2 separate regions of the Homo sapiens genome follow, and region 2 is linked to region 1. The links are contacts of gene promoters, found by promoter capture Hi-C in blood cells and fetal thymus (Javierre and others, 2016). All regions are on one chromosome and are shown on one strand. The core of a region is centred on a gene start or on the middle of the fragment in contact, and the rest is flanking DNA. Distances in the headings are between cores, read along the strand shown.

Region 1 (5,932 bases), core at 324-2,823:
ATTATATATCTAGCTCCTGGCATAGAGCCTGGCACACAGTTGGAGTACAATAAGTATTTATCTGGTTGACTTCATAGCAACCTAGGTCTTAGCATCCAGAACTTGTTCATTTGAAGAACTCCGCCCTCGGTCTACTTAGGGGTTTATTCCTTTCACTTCATTCCAATGCCACTGCTAAATCCAGGCCTTGTTTCTGGATTTCTACTGGGTTTCTGACCTCTCCTCTAAGGCTTGTTAACAAGAAGGCATTTCCCACTTTGCTTGCACTCTATGATTTCTCTTAGTTCCACAGCTGAGCAGTCCACCCTCACTGCCCTCCAACCCCAGGGTTGCTTGTAGAAGTTGAGTAAATCAACAGATGGAGTTAGTTCTGGGTTTTTTGTTGTTGTTGTTGTTGTTTGAGGTGGAGTCTCGCTCTATCCCCCAGGCTGGAGTGCAGTGGTGCAAACTCTGCTCACTGCAAGCTGTGCCTCCTGGGTTCACACCATTCTCCTGCCTCAGCCTCCTGAGTAGCTGGGACTACAGGTGCCCGCCACCACGCCAAACTAATTTTTTTGTATTTTTTTGGTAGAGACGGGGTTTCACCGTGTTAGCCAGGATGGTCTCGATCTCCTGACCTCGTGATCCGCCCGCCTCGGCCTCCCAAAGTGCTGGGATCACAGACGTGAGCCACTGCGCCTGGCCAAGTTAGTTCTGGTTTTAGTCGTACTTTTTATCTCTATTACTTTGGCTATGCTATAGGCCTCAGTTTCCTCATCTCTAACAAATGACGCTGAAATTGAATGATCTCAAAGCTTCCTTCCAACTCTAATGCTATATAGTTTGAACTCTGTCCTATATTGATCATCTATTGAGCTTATGACCAAGATGGTGACAACTCTCCACTTTGACCAAAACTTAGTTAGGCTCCTTTGAGTCCTCTGCTTGACTAGGCTTGATCTTGGGCTTTCTGTCCTTGTAGAATCCAATTTGAGCAAGAATCCTGCTGAATCAGTGTAGTGAAAATCCTCATTCTTGGTGTCTGACTACCATGGATATCAATCACCCTGGCCTGCCTTCAGCAACTATCCTGTCAAGTTGGTTTAGCCAGAATCCTCCTTAACACTGATGTTCCCTCTTTGTAATTTTCCATCCACTGACCTCCCACCAAGCTTCTTGGTTAGAAATTTGTCCTTATTAGAGTCAAAATTCAGTCCAATCTCTCTCTCCCACTGCAAGACCCCATTGCAGCTGTCCCTGGACCTATCTCCATGGCTCCCTTTGTCAAAGTCGGCCTTCCTGTACCATCTCTAACGAGTGTCATGAATAATTTTTTCTTTAACACTGGAAAGAATCCTTGGCCTTAGGGGTGGGGTAAAGCCAGCGTTGGGAAAGCCTGTGCATTAGGCAGCGCTGTTCTGCCTGCAGGGAACGATTGCACAACTGATAACTTGGGCCTAGGCTCAGCTGGATTTGAGGATTTGAGACTTAGACTGGGTCAGGGTCCCCCGCGTCGCCAGGGGGCGCTGCAGGCCGCTCCCCGGAAGGCCTCATCCTGCGCGGCTGGACAGCGCCTGGCGCCGGACTCCTCTTTCTCCCGGAAGCGGAGCACCGAGCCGGCAAAGGCTTGGGTGTGAGACAGCAGCGGTGGCAGACACCGCAGAAGCAAAGAGCAGTGAGGCTCCTGCATTCGGGTGGAGCACCATGGACGAAGCTGGCAGCTCTGCGAGCGGCGGGGGCTTCCGCCCGGGCGTGGACAGCCTGGACGAACCGCCCAACAGCCGCATCTTCCTTGTGATCAGCAAGTACACACCTGAGTCGGTGCTGAGGGAGCGCTTCTCGCCTTTTGGCGACATCCAGGACATCTGGGTGGTGCGGGACAAGCACACCAAGGAGTCCAAGGGCATTGCTTTCGTCAAGTTCGCCCGCAGCTCACAGGCCTGCAGGGCCATGGAGGAGATGCATGGCCAGTGCCTCGGCCCCAACGACACCAAGCCCATCAAGGTGCGGGTGCCCGGGTCGGGGTGCCCTCGGGGGAAGGAGTGGGCCTCTTGGACCTCCCTTCACCTGCTGCTCTGCCGGGGTGAGGGAGGAGTGGAACATCCGTTCCCGGCAGCTGACCAGACAGCACCTGGCTTGGGGACAGGGGCTGCTTTGAGGAGAGGCTCCCCTCCCACGAAGCTGCGCCGGGTTGCAGGGAAGGGGACGGGATGCGGAGTGTTTGCCCCACGAGAGCGGACCCGGCAGCCGCGGCCACCGGGTGACAGAACAGCAGTGGCTGGGCTTCCCCTCTCCCTCGCCCTCACTAATCCACCAGCTCTTGAGTTCACTGCCAAACTCGTCCTAGCCTACTTTGAGTACTTTTCTGACCTTCCTCTCTCAGATGCCCAGATTTCCATATATAAAAAACGGAAAAACTCTACTTTTCCTCAGGTACAGATGAGGCGTTAACAACTTGACAGAAGTACTTTAAACTGGGGAGGGACCTCTGGTGTTGGACGTTTTCCTAGTACCAGGCGAAAGAATACATGTACAGAAAGAATAAGTGCAGGTGTTTAAAACGGTCACTGTTACATATTCTTCACATTTTGTTATTTTGGAAAATTGTTTTGAATGAGCTCTGTTTCTGAAAGTGTTAATAGCATACATTTGGTTCTTGACCCTTTCTGTTACTGCAACTTTTCTTTGAAAGCAGACCAAAGTAAACTGCCTTAAGAAGAGCCAAATCATTGTGATAATGACACATGGCAGGAAGGATCATTTTGAGGGTTATTTGACATAATATGTGCTGTCAGCACAGTGCCTCACACAGGGTAAGCCCTCAATAATGTCCTTGTTATTGATCAGTAGTAGCCAAGATGTCACAGCTTACTCCCTGTGATCTCAAATCAGGACTCAATCCTGAGAATCTGGCAATTGCTTAAATTGTAGCCTTCGTCTGCCCCATGTAAATAGTTGCTGTGTATGTTATTCTGTTGGTACTTTGCACAAAAATATTTTCTCAATTTTTTAAAAAATTGTTTTCCAAACTGAGAATGGTATTAATATGGATTTATGTAAATAAAGGGCTCAGAGATATTTCAGTCTCTGGAGGTCTTGCTCCATCCACCAAAGAGAAGGAGCCTGGGACTCTACCAACAACACAGTAAACAGTCCCTTCCTCCCACTTCTCCAACCCTCTGAAGTGTGTCAGAGTGACAGCAACAAAATTAATTGTAGGGCCACAGCATACAGGATCAGGAATTGGCAAACTTTTTCTGTAAAGGGCTGACTAGTAAATATTTTAGGCTTTGCAGGCCACATACAGTCTCTGTCACATAACCTTGTCTGTTTTTACAGTCCTTAAAAACTGTAAAAACAATTATTACATCATGGGCTATACCAAAAATGGAGCTGTGGTTTGCTGACCCCTGTACTAGACTAATGAATTTTATCGCTGTCCAATTATGACCTTAGTGGAGAGGATTTTTATATTTTGAGTGTAACATGGCCACAGAGCCCTTGTGGGCAGCCCAAAAAACTGTCCCATATTTGAAATTGATGGACCACCTTCCCCTGATAAATTTCTATAAGAGAAATTAAAGGCCCAACACCGAAATGTACCCTCTCTTTTAGCCTCAGAGAAATTAAAGATCTTGTTCCCAAAAAGAAATAAACTTTACTATTTTCTTTGTCACATTTTTGACTATTCAGTTTTAGCCAGAAGGTTGTTTCACTGTAGTACCTAGCTAGACAGTCTAGTTTCTGTTTCTTTTTCTTTTTTTGAGACAGAATCTCACTCTGTCACCCAGGCTAGAGTGCAGTGGCTTCTTGATCACAGCTCACTGTAGCCTCCACCTCCCAGACTCAAGCAATCCTCTTGCCTCATCCTCCCTCTCGAGTAGCTGGGACTACAGATGTGCACCACCATGCCCAGCTTATTTTTTTTATTTTTCTTAGAGACAGGGTCTCACTATGTTGCCTAAGCAGGTCTCAAGCTCCTGGACTCAAGTGAGCCTCCCGTTTCATCCTCCCATTACAGTTGTGAGCCACCACACCCTAACAGACTAGTTTCATTCAGCAGCTGCAGCTTGAGCCATCTTCAACTGGAACACTCTTGGGTTGTTTTCAGCATTTCCAGTTAAATTAATTCAGCTTCAATATTTCTATTGTACTTTGCTTTTACAAAGTTTCAGAGGATCTGTAAGACAACAATATTATCTTACCAGCCCTCAGCCAGAAAAGATTGTCCAAGTAAAAGTTATTCTGTGACCAACTATGTTATCTGGCGGAAAGGGGGAAACCTAGAAAACAGAAGAAAAAAATCTTGGCTGTAGTTTTGCAAGAATGCTTCTTATCTAGAGCCTATGAACACTCAGTCTATGAAGGTAAAAATTTATGGGAGAAATCTACCATGAGGAGGTTAATTATTTTACGTATGTTCTACATAGACTGTCTCCTTTATCAGAGATTTGAAACACCTCAGTCCTCTAAAATATAGAAATCTGTGCTCTGATGGCACTTCCAATTTCATCTTACCTGAGGTTCTTTTTTTTTTCTCTAGTGTCTTTGCATATACTTAAAGCTTCCCTATTTGTATTTCCCTATTTACCATTTATTACTGATATCAGCCACAAGACTCTAGTGGGCCATTTCCATGTTACTCAATAGTTGTACTCATATGGTGCTTGACATATAGTATAGATTTATTGAAGGAATAACTAGAAGTAGACTATAAAGGGATATGTCTCTAACACTGTGGTTTTCTTGGTTGCTGCTTCCTACTGTGGAATTTCATAAGTTCCAGTTTTCTCATGCTTTAATGATACAGAGCCCCCTTTACCAGCAGTGGATCAGAGACCAAGATATAGAGACCCCTTTAAAGGAAAAAGAAACAAACAATGCAAGTGCCCTTGTTTATGGTGTTTTAATTAATTGTATTACGTTTCTTCAAATTACTCTGGCTAAAAATAAATGCAAAAGTAGAAATACATTTGGGAAAAACACAATGCAGAGATTGGTATTATCTCATAAAAAAAAGTCATTGCAGGCCCAGCACAGTGGCTCACACCTGTAATCCCAGCACTTTGGAAGGTCAAAGTGGGAGGATCACTTGAGCCCAGGAATTCATGACCATCCTGGACAACATAGCAAGACCTTGTCTCTACAAATATTAAAAAATTAGCTGGGTGTGGTGGTGTGTGCCTGTGGTCCCAGCTACTTGGGAGGCTGAGGTGGGAGGATCACTTGAGCCTAGAATGTTGAGACTGCCGTGAGCCATGATCACACCACTGCACTGCAGCCTGCTTTTTTTTTTCTTTGAGACCCTGTCTCAAAGATTAAAAAAAAGTCATTGCAAGAATAATTGCTTTTGAAAAAATTTAAGAAATGGGAAAATAGTTGACATTATTTTATTTTGGGAGTTTTGTTTGTTTCTTAGGTTTTCATTGCTCAGTCCCGATCATCTGGAAGTCACCGAGATGTTGAAGATGAAGAACTTACAAGAATCTTTGTTATGATACCAAAGTCCTACACAGAAGAAGATCTGCGGGAAAAATTTAAGGTATTTATTCTAATCAGCTAGCATATGTGATAACTCATAGTCCTGCATAGGTTGTATGGGTACTAAATCTGAAATGTTGTTGGAATAAGGTCAATAGAGTAGTCTTGGGGAATTACATAACTGCTTTCATCAATTTCAATCTACTCTTTAAATATTAAACCTAGCATAAATTAGTTTTTAAAATTAAAGAATATATAAAAGCTGGAAAATAGTAATGGTAGTCTCTCCCTACTTTATTGTGAAAGTAGAGATTCGCAGAAATGAAGCATAAAGCTCAGAAACTTTTAAGTAAAGTCACACAACTAGTAGGTGGTAGAGCTATGATTTAAACCCAGGCTGTCGGAGTCTGGAGCCTGCTCTTGGTCTTTAAAATTTCAAAGCACGCTTTTATCACTCCCCTCTATTGCCTGG
Region 2 (6,462 bases), core at 1,103-3,602, 810 kb after region 1:
TATGAAACAATTCTAAAAACACCGTTTGAAGGTGTATATTACATTGGAAAAGGTAGAAAAAATTTTCAAATAAGATCACCAGCCTCTTACACTGAGCCGTACTCAAGTGATGTGAACAGGTGAACATTGCCACTTAGCAGGAACCACCTGCTGCAATCAATGTCCAATGAATCAGAGAGGAGAAGCAGAGCACTCCTCCAACTCAAGACCTGGAGATGGTCCACAGCCAGATTTCACTCTGGCTGACTTAAAAAGGCAAGACCAAGGTGGAACAATCAGGCTAAGGCACTGTTTCTAGCCTTACGGCTTGTGTGCAAAAAGGCTTGCAATATTCATATGTATTTTACCTGGTAAATTAAAGAGGATGAATAAAAGGAGGCCTTCGGTAAAAATTTTAAGGTATTTTTCAGCCTTGATACATTTATGATAATTCTCTTCCTCCATGGGAAACACTATAATGTGGGCACAAGTGTCCCCCCGAAACAGACCAGTGGCAGCTGTAAGATAAAACCCTCATGAGGCTAGGCATGGTGGCTCATGCCTACAATTTCAATATTTTGGGAGGCCAGCGCAGGAGGATCACTTGAGCCCAGGAGTTTGAGGCCAGCCTGCACAACATAGCAAGACCCTGTCTCTACCAAAAAAAAAAAGTAGTCAAGCATGGTGGCATGTGCCTATGATTCCAGCTACGTGGGAGGCTGAGGTGGGACAATCACTTGAGTCCAGGAGGTCGAGGCTGCAGTAAGCTATGATCACGCCACTACACTCCAGCCAGGGTGACAGAGCCAGGCCCTTTCTCAAAACAACAACAAAAACCATCCAATGAACCAAACCAAACCAAACAAAACAAAAAGACAAAAAACCCTCACGAGGTTTGTTTGTTGTTTTTAAAGTCACCTTTTACATGTGAAAACAGTCTTTCAGTTTTGAGAATCAAATAATGGCCATAATAGGAATATATGTTAAAAGCTCTCTTTGCTGCTATCAGTTTTGAAATTTTACATGGCGTTTTGACTTCTGTGATGTGCTCCAGTCAGTTGAAGTAATGGGTCTTTTACTGGTCTGCCTGATTACCGAAAATTATCAACTTGACCTCACACTGACCTTGTTAGCACTGTTAAAAAATTCATTCGCCTTCTTTAACCAGGTATTCCTTTCCACCATGAGTTGACCAAATTCTTCTTGAAGCTGACTGAGTTTCTGGTGAGAGAGCTGGAGGTGTTCTTTCTCCACGTAGTCCTTTGACAGCAGAATTCTCAGTGCCTCACTCTTCAGCTTCTCAACAGCAGAATTCCATTCCTGCAAGAGATTATTCTTATTATTTTATACATCTCCTCTGTTATGGACCGAATGCTTGTGTCCCCCCGAAATTCCTCTGCTGAAATCTAACCCCCAAGGTGATGATATTAGGAAGTAGGGCTTTGGGAGATGATTAGTGACCTTATGAAAGAGGCCTGAGAGGGCTGCCTTGCCCCTTCCACCATGTGAGGATACAGTAAGTTGGCAGTCTGCAACCCAGAAGAGGGTTTTCACCACAACTCTACCGTGCTGGCACCCTGATCTCAAACTTCTCACACCCAGGACAATGAGACATAAATATCTATTGTATACAAGCCATTCAGTCTATGTTACTTTGTTATAGAAACTCAAACTGACAAAGACACCTCTTTTTATAATTTCTGATAAGATTCAGAGAATATTTAGATATGCTGAGTATATCAAAAATCTGCCATTCGATTTTCAAATCATGAAATTGTAGTAAATATTGTAGTGGTAAATGCTTCACTACAGGTTTGAGTACCATGTAGATGTAGTGGGAAAAGACACAGAAAGAGGCTAAAAAGGGAGAGTAGAAAGAGGCAGGAAGTTGGGATGAGTGACTGGCAGAGCTACCAGCTGACCTGAATACAGGTCACTTCCATTTCTGTGAACTCCACCTAAAAATATACCCCCTATACAATGAACAACAGTTTTAAATCTTGAACTCATTTTGTCCGATGTGTATTCATTTAAGTATAAAAACATATCTTTCCCACAATTCAGTCTCACTGTCAATGCAGGTAAATGTGTACAAGAAATGAAGAGAAATCACATGTCTTATGACTGTTGTTTTTGTGTCTGCCTACAATTACAGCTATTAGGTTGGTACAAAGGTAATTGTGGTTTTTGCCATTAAAAGTAATTACCTTTGCACCAACCTAATAAAATGAAGTTCTGTTACTCCTCATAAAATGAATAGCTGTTATTGTTCGGTATTTTCTCCTTCATGATATCGGTTTCACCTCTCAAGGCTTCACTCTTAATGGTATATAGACCTTTCAGAAAATGAAAAGAGGTAGCTTTTTACTTTTTGTTGCATGAGAATGGAAAAACATTAAACAGAATTAAAATATGAGTTGGAGTAAACCAAACATATTTACATTCAATTTATTTGAAGGGAAATTCAAGTTTCTTGCAAAAGTCCTGAAGTCAGACCCACTGTCATAAAAGAATGATTATCTCTAACATGACTGTCTTGTTAGTGAATCTTCTGGTATCCATATAAGCTGCGGTTGAGTGATAGGCATAGGCTACTTGTGAAGCGTGGAAAATTTAGCACAAGATTTCAGAAGTCTCAGTCTGACTCCATCCTGCCTTGTTCTACCAGTACAAAGTATCCTATTATTAAGTTACATTTGTTATATTACATTGTGTAAAATCAGCACAATTTTAGTGCAATTTGCCATTATTGTTTCCATTCATTCATTTTACAAAGTAACTACTATGGTACTACTATGTCCCCAGCACTATGCTAAGACAGATGCCTTGGGGAATATAAAGAAAGAATAAAATGGCTTGTGTGGTGGCTCACGTTTGTAATCCCAGCACTTTGGGAGGCCAAGGCAAGCAGATGGCATGAGCCCAGGAGTTTGAGACCAGCCTGGGCAACATGGCAAAACCCTGTCTCTACAAAAAATGCAAAAAATTAGCTGGGCATAGTGGCGCATGCTTGTAGTTCCAGCTACTCGGTGGGGCTGAGGTAGGAGGATCGCTTGAGACCAGGAAGTTGAGGCTGCAGTGAATTGTGATCATGTCACTGAACTCCATACACACACACACACACACACACACACACACACACTCAATACAATAGTATTTTAAATAACAATTAGCAGATGTTAAGATAGAAACTGTACATATTATTTTGTGGTGTCCATGGAAACTGTTATAGTTTTAGGTGCAAAAGAAAAACATTTTGATCAATGAATACAGGAGTATAAAATGTAGAGTAAGAAATTTGAATTATTTGAAGTATCAGTTATATAAAATTGTGGCTTATAACTATAATCCTCAAAAACCCTTAAATTAGATATTATTATTTTTTCTAGTATTGACATAGGTTCAGAAGAGTATGCTACTCAAGGTTACGTATCCAGTAAGAGGCAGTACCAGGACTAGTTCACAGGTCTTTGTCTCATGCTACCTTCCAGGGAACTGAGGATAGACTCCAAAATCTGCAATTTCTCAGTGCATGCAAAAGCAGCACTCTTAAGCATGGATATGGGCTACGTGAGTTCTCAAGATCTTTCAATTTTTAAAGAGCTATTGTGTCCCCACTTAAGGAAAACTAATATGTGCCAAGATGTTCTTTCATAAAGCACTTTTATTACCGTTACCACTTAAAAACCATTACTTTAACCTACTGGGAATGAGCAAATATTTTTAAAACAGTACAATTTCTGGCACACATAATAGGCACTCACTAAGTGTTAGTCCCACTTTTCTGAGCATCAGTTTTGGTTCATTAGCTCTCCAAATGTGTTCTTTATTTATGGGTATTCCCATTACCCACTTGTAAAATAATGGCAGTGAAATATTTCCCAAAATGTTATTGATTAGTGTTAAGTATTGAACAGTCTTATGAGATGAAACAAAGTAAAACAGGTTTTTTTTTGTGGTTTTCGTTTGTTTTTGTTTTTTTTTACTGCAGTACTTCTTGGCATCTTTAATGTATTAATGTGCATTGAGACTCTCCTAGAGGAAAGTGTGGTGTGGAATATTTTGGGCAAACTCTTTTGATTAATAAACTGTTTGTAGTCATCTCAGGGGACCAATGCTCCAGTTGGAACAATGTTGGGGAAAAACGTTCTATAGCTAAGAGCAGCTGAATCACCAACTGGGTTCACCAGCTCCCACAAGTCTTTCTGTTTCGTTCTTTGTTTTGTCCCTGTTCTCCAGCTCCTCTGTTAGTTCATTTCCTCTCTTTGTACCATCCTTTCTTCTTCTGTCTGTTCAGATCTGTGGGGCATTAATACTCAAACTCAGGTGGAGAAATAATGTGTAAAGATGCAGAATAAAGCAGGTAATTCTTTAAAAAGATTTGGCATTGATCAGAACTTTCTGTGCGATTAGGGGAGACTACTTAATGAATATGGAGAAGCTGGGGAGGGCCTAGAAAAACAGGGGCAAGGAAAATGCAGAAGTTAGGATATGAAGAAATGAAATATAGCCATTGCGTGCTCAGTCTAACAACACTAAGCTCTAGGATGTTGTCTTAACTGTCTGCAAGATGGTAAGGGTTGATTTTTCTTTCTGTATGTTAGTGGTGTGCTAAATGCTTTACATGCATTATGTCATTTAATTTTTATCATATCCTTATGAGGTAGGAACTGTTATTATCTTCATTTTACAGATGGAGTAACTGGGGCCAAGGGAGATTACCAACTTGCCCAAGATGTCAACATTAGTAAGAGAAAGAGCCAAATTTCAAACTCAGGTAGTTTGACTCTACAATCTGCTATCTCAACCAGATTTCCAGCCCAGCTCTTCTCAGTCTTGACACACTGTTTTTCTCATCAAAGAATGATTAACCATATTATTTTGGAATTGCCTAGGTAAAACTTCCACATGGCCTGGACAAGACCTCGGAGGTGATAAAAATCTTGTATGACCCTGGGATTCTCAGATTTGAAATCAGAAGGCTCGCTATTTCAGAATAAACACAAAGCTAATATAGATATAGTTGAAAATTTACAGCCCAAACTTAGACTTAGTTTTGCTTAGCAACTGGACCAAAATAATAAACAAGAAGAGAAATACCTGTTCTCCAGCGATTTCATAAATCTGCCTTCAGTATAAATTTTGCAGACAACATTAAAGAAAGACCTTTGGAGTAGAGCCAAGCCTTTGAAAACCCACTTTAACCTTGTGCTTGGCACTGTGCTATAAAAAGTTTACTGTGACCTTCCAAAGAAACTGTAAGGGGCCATTTTGTGGCTCTTATCTTTTTTTGTTCTCCATCCCCAGTCTTCTTAATTACATTTTCACATGAACTCTGTGGGTATTAAATGAAGCTGGGTCCATTCAGTATTTCTGTTCAATCTTCTCAGAAAATTGGTTCTGTTTTCTTTGGGCAATCTATAGGCAGTTTCTGATGCATTTCTCTACCATTCTGGTAATGTATTTATTTCCCCAGCCATTTTTCATAGGGGACACTTCCACCAGTTTATTTTTTTTTTTTCTTTTTTTTTTTTTGAGACGGAGTCTCGCTCTGTCGCCCAGGCTGGAGTGCAGTGGCGGGATCTCGGCTCACTGCAAGCTCCGCCTCCCGGGTTCACGCCATTCTCCTGCCTCAGCCTCCCAAGTAGCTGGGACTACAGGCGCCCGCCACTACGCCCGGCTAATTTTTTGTATTTTTAGTAGAGACGGGGTTTCACCATTTTAGCCGGGATGGTCTCGATCTCCTGACCTCGTGATCCGCCCGCCTCGGCCTCCCAAAGTGCTGGGATTACAGGCGTGAGCCACCGCGCCCGGCCCCACCAGTTTATTTTTAAGATGAAACTTTCCAGAGCAATTTGAATCCATCACACTATTTAAAAAATATAGTTGTCACCCTTGTCAAGGCTAGAGGAGCCCAATGGAGAAAATCTCGTTCTGTTTTCTCTAAGCCGTTGCTGCCTGCCTGCGAAGTGTTAAACTTCTAACAGGGTCTCAGTCACTTTGCAATAAAATATTTCCAGTACTTGTCCCCACCAGCAGAAAGCCAAAGCCTTCCATTTCCTTGGCTTTTCAATTTGACAGAGATGCGTGCGTATCTCCGACCCGATACAGACGTGAGGCCCTGTGTGTTTCCAGGTTTGTGGTGTCTCCATAGGTCACTCCGTTATTTTCATTTTTCACTCACAGTAGGAACCTTTTTAACTGTACCTTTCAGTATTCCATTTCCTGAGGAAATTGAGCTTTTCTTGGATCCCTTGATTGAAAGGGTACTTTTAAGAGGATTAGTGCTGACAGACAAGAAGGCGAAAAAGATTTCTTCTTTCCTTCCCCCCACTGCTAGTCCTAGCTTAGCTCTTTAAATGAAGTTATGAACTGGCATAACAATTATCCAGCAAGCAGATCCAAAAAGTAAGAATGTTAGCTGCTCCAACTGAAAAGAAAAAATAATAATAACTACAGTATGTTTAGTAAGCTTTTGCTCAC

The links. The method cuts DNA at HindIII sites, captures the fragments that hold promoters and counts their contacts. A CHiCAGO score of 5 or more calls a contact.
Region 2: a contact is called between a fragment that was not itself captured here and the fragment with the promoter of RBM45 in region 1, in 1 of 17 cell types (neutrophils). The highest score is 7.6, in neutrophils.

The regions. Positions count from the first base shown.
Region 1 is chr2:178,110,864-178,116,795 of GRCh38, forward strand. It overlaps RBM45 (RNA binding motif protein 45), which reads left to right and starts at 1,574. Exons shown (of 10, transcript NM_152945.4): 1 at 1,574-1,983; 2 at 5,399-5,521. The coding sequence starts at 1,684. RefSeq lists an enhancer at 1,610-1,779. The HindIII fragment of the contact is 3,392 bases long and covers 1,150-4,541 here.
Region 2 is chr2:178,917,609-178,924,070 of GRCh38, forward strand. It overlaps CCDC141 (coiled-coil domain containing 141), which reads right to left. Exons shown (of 24, transcript NM_173648.4): 7 at 1,105-1,299. LOC105373766 (a long non-coding RNA gene) reads left to right here. Exons shown (of 4, transcript XR_001739140.2): 4 at 4,673-4,750. Among named protein-coding and RNA genes, the nearest start is that of TTN, 110 kb to the left of the region's middle. The HindIII fragment of the contact is 8,194 bases long and covers 1-6,449 here.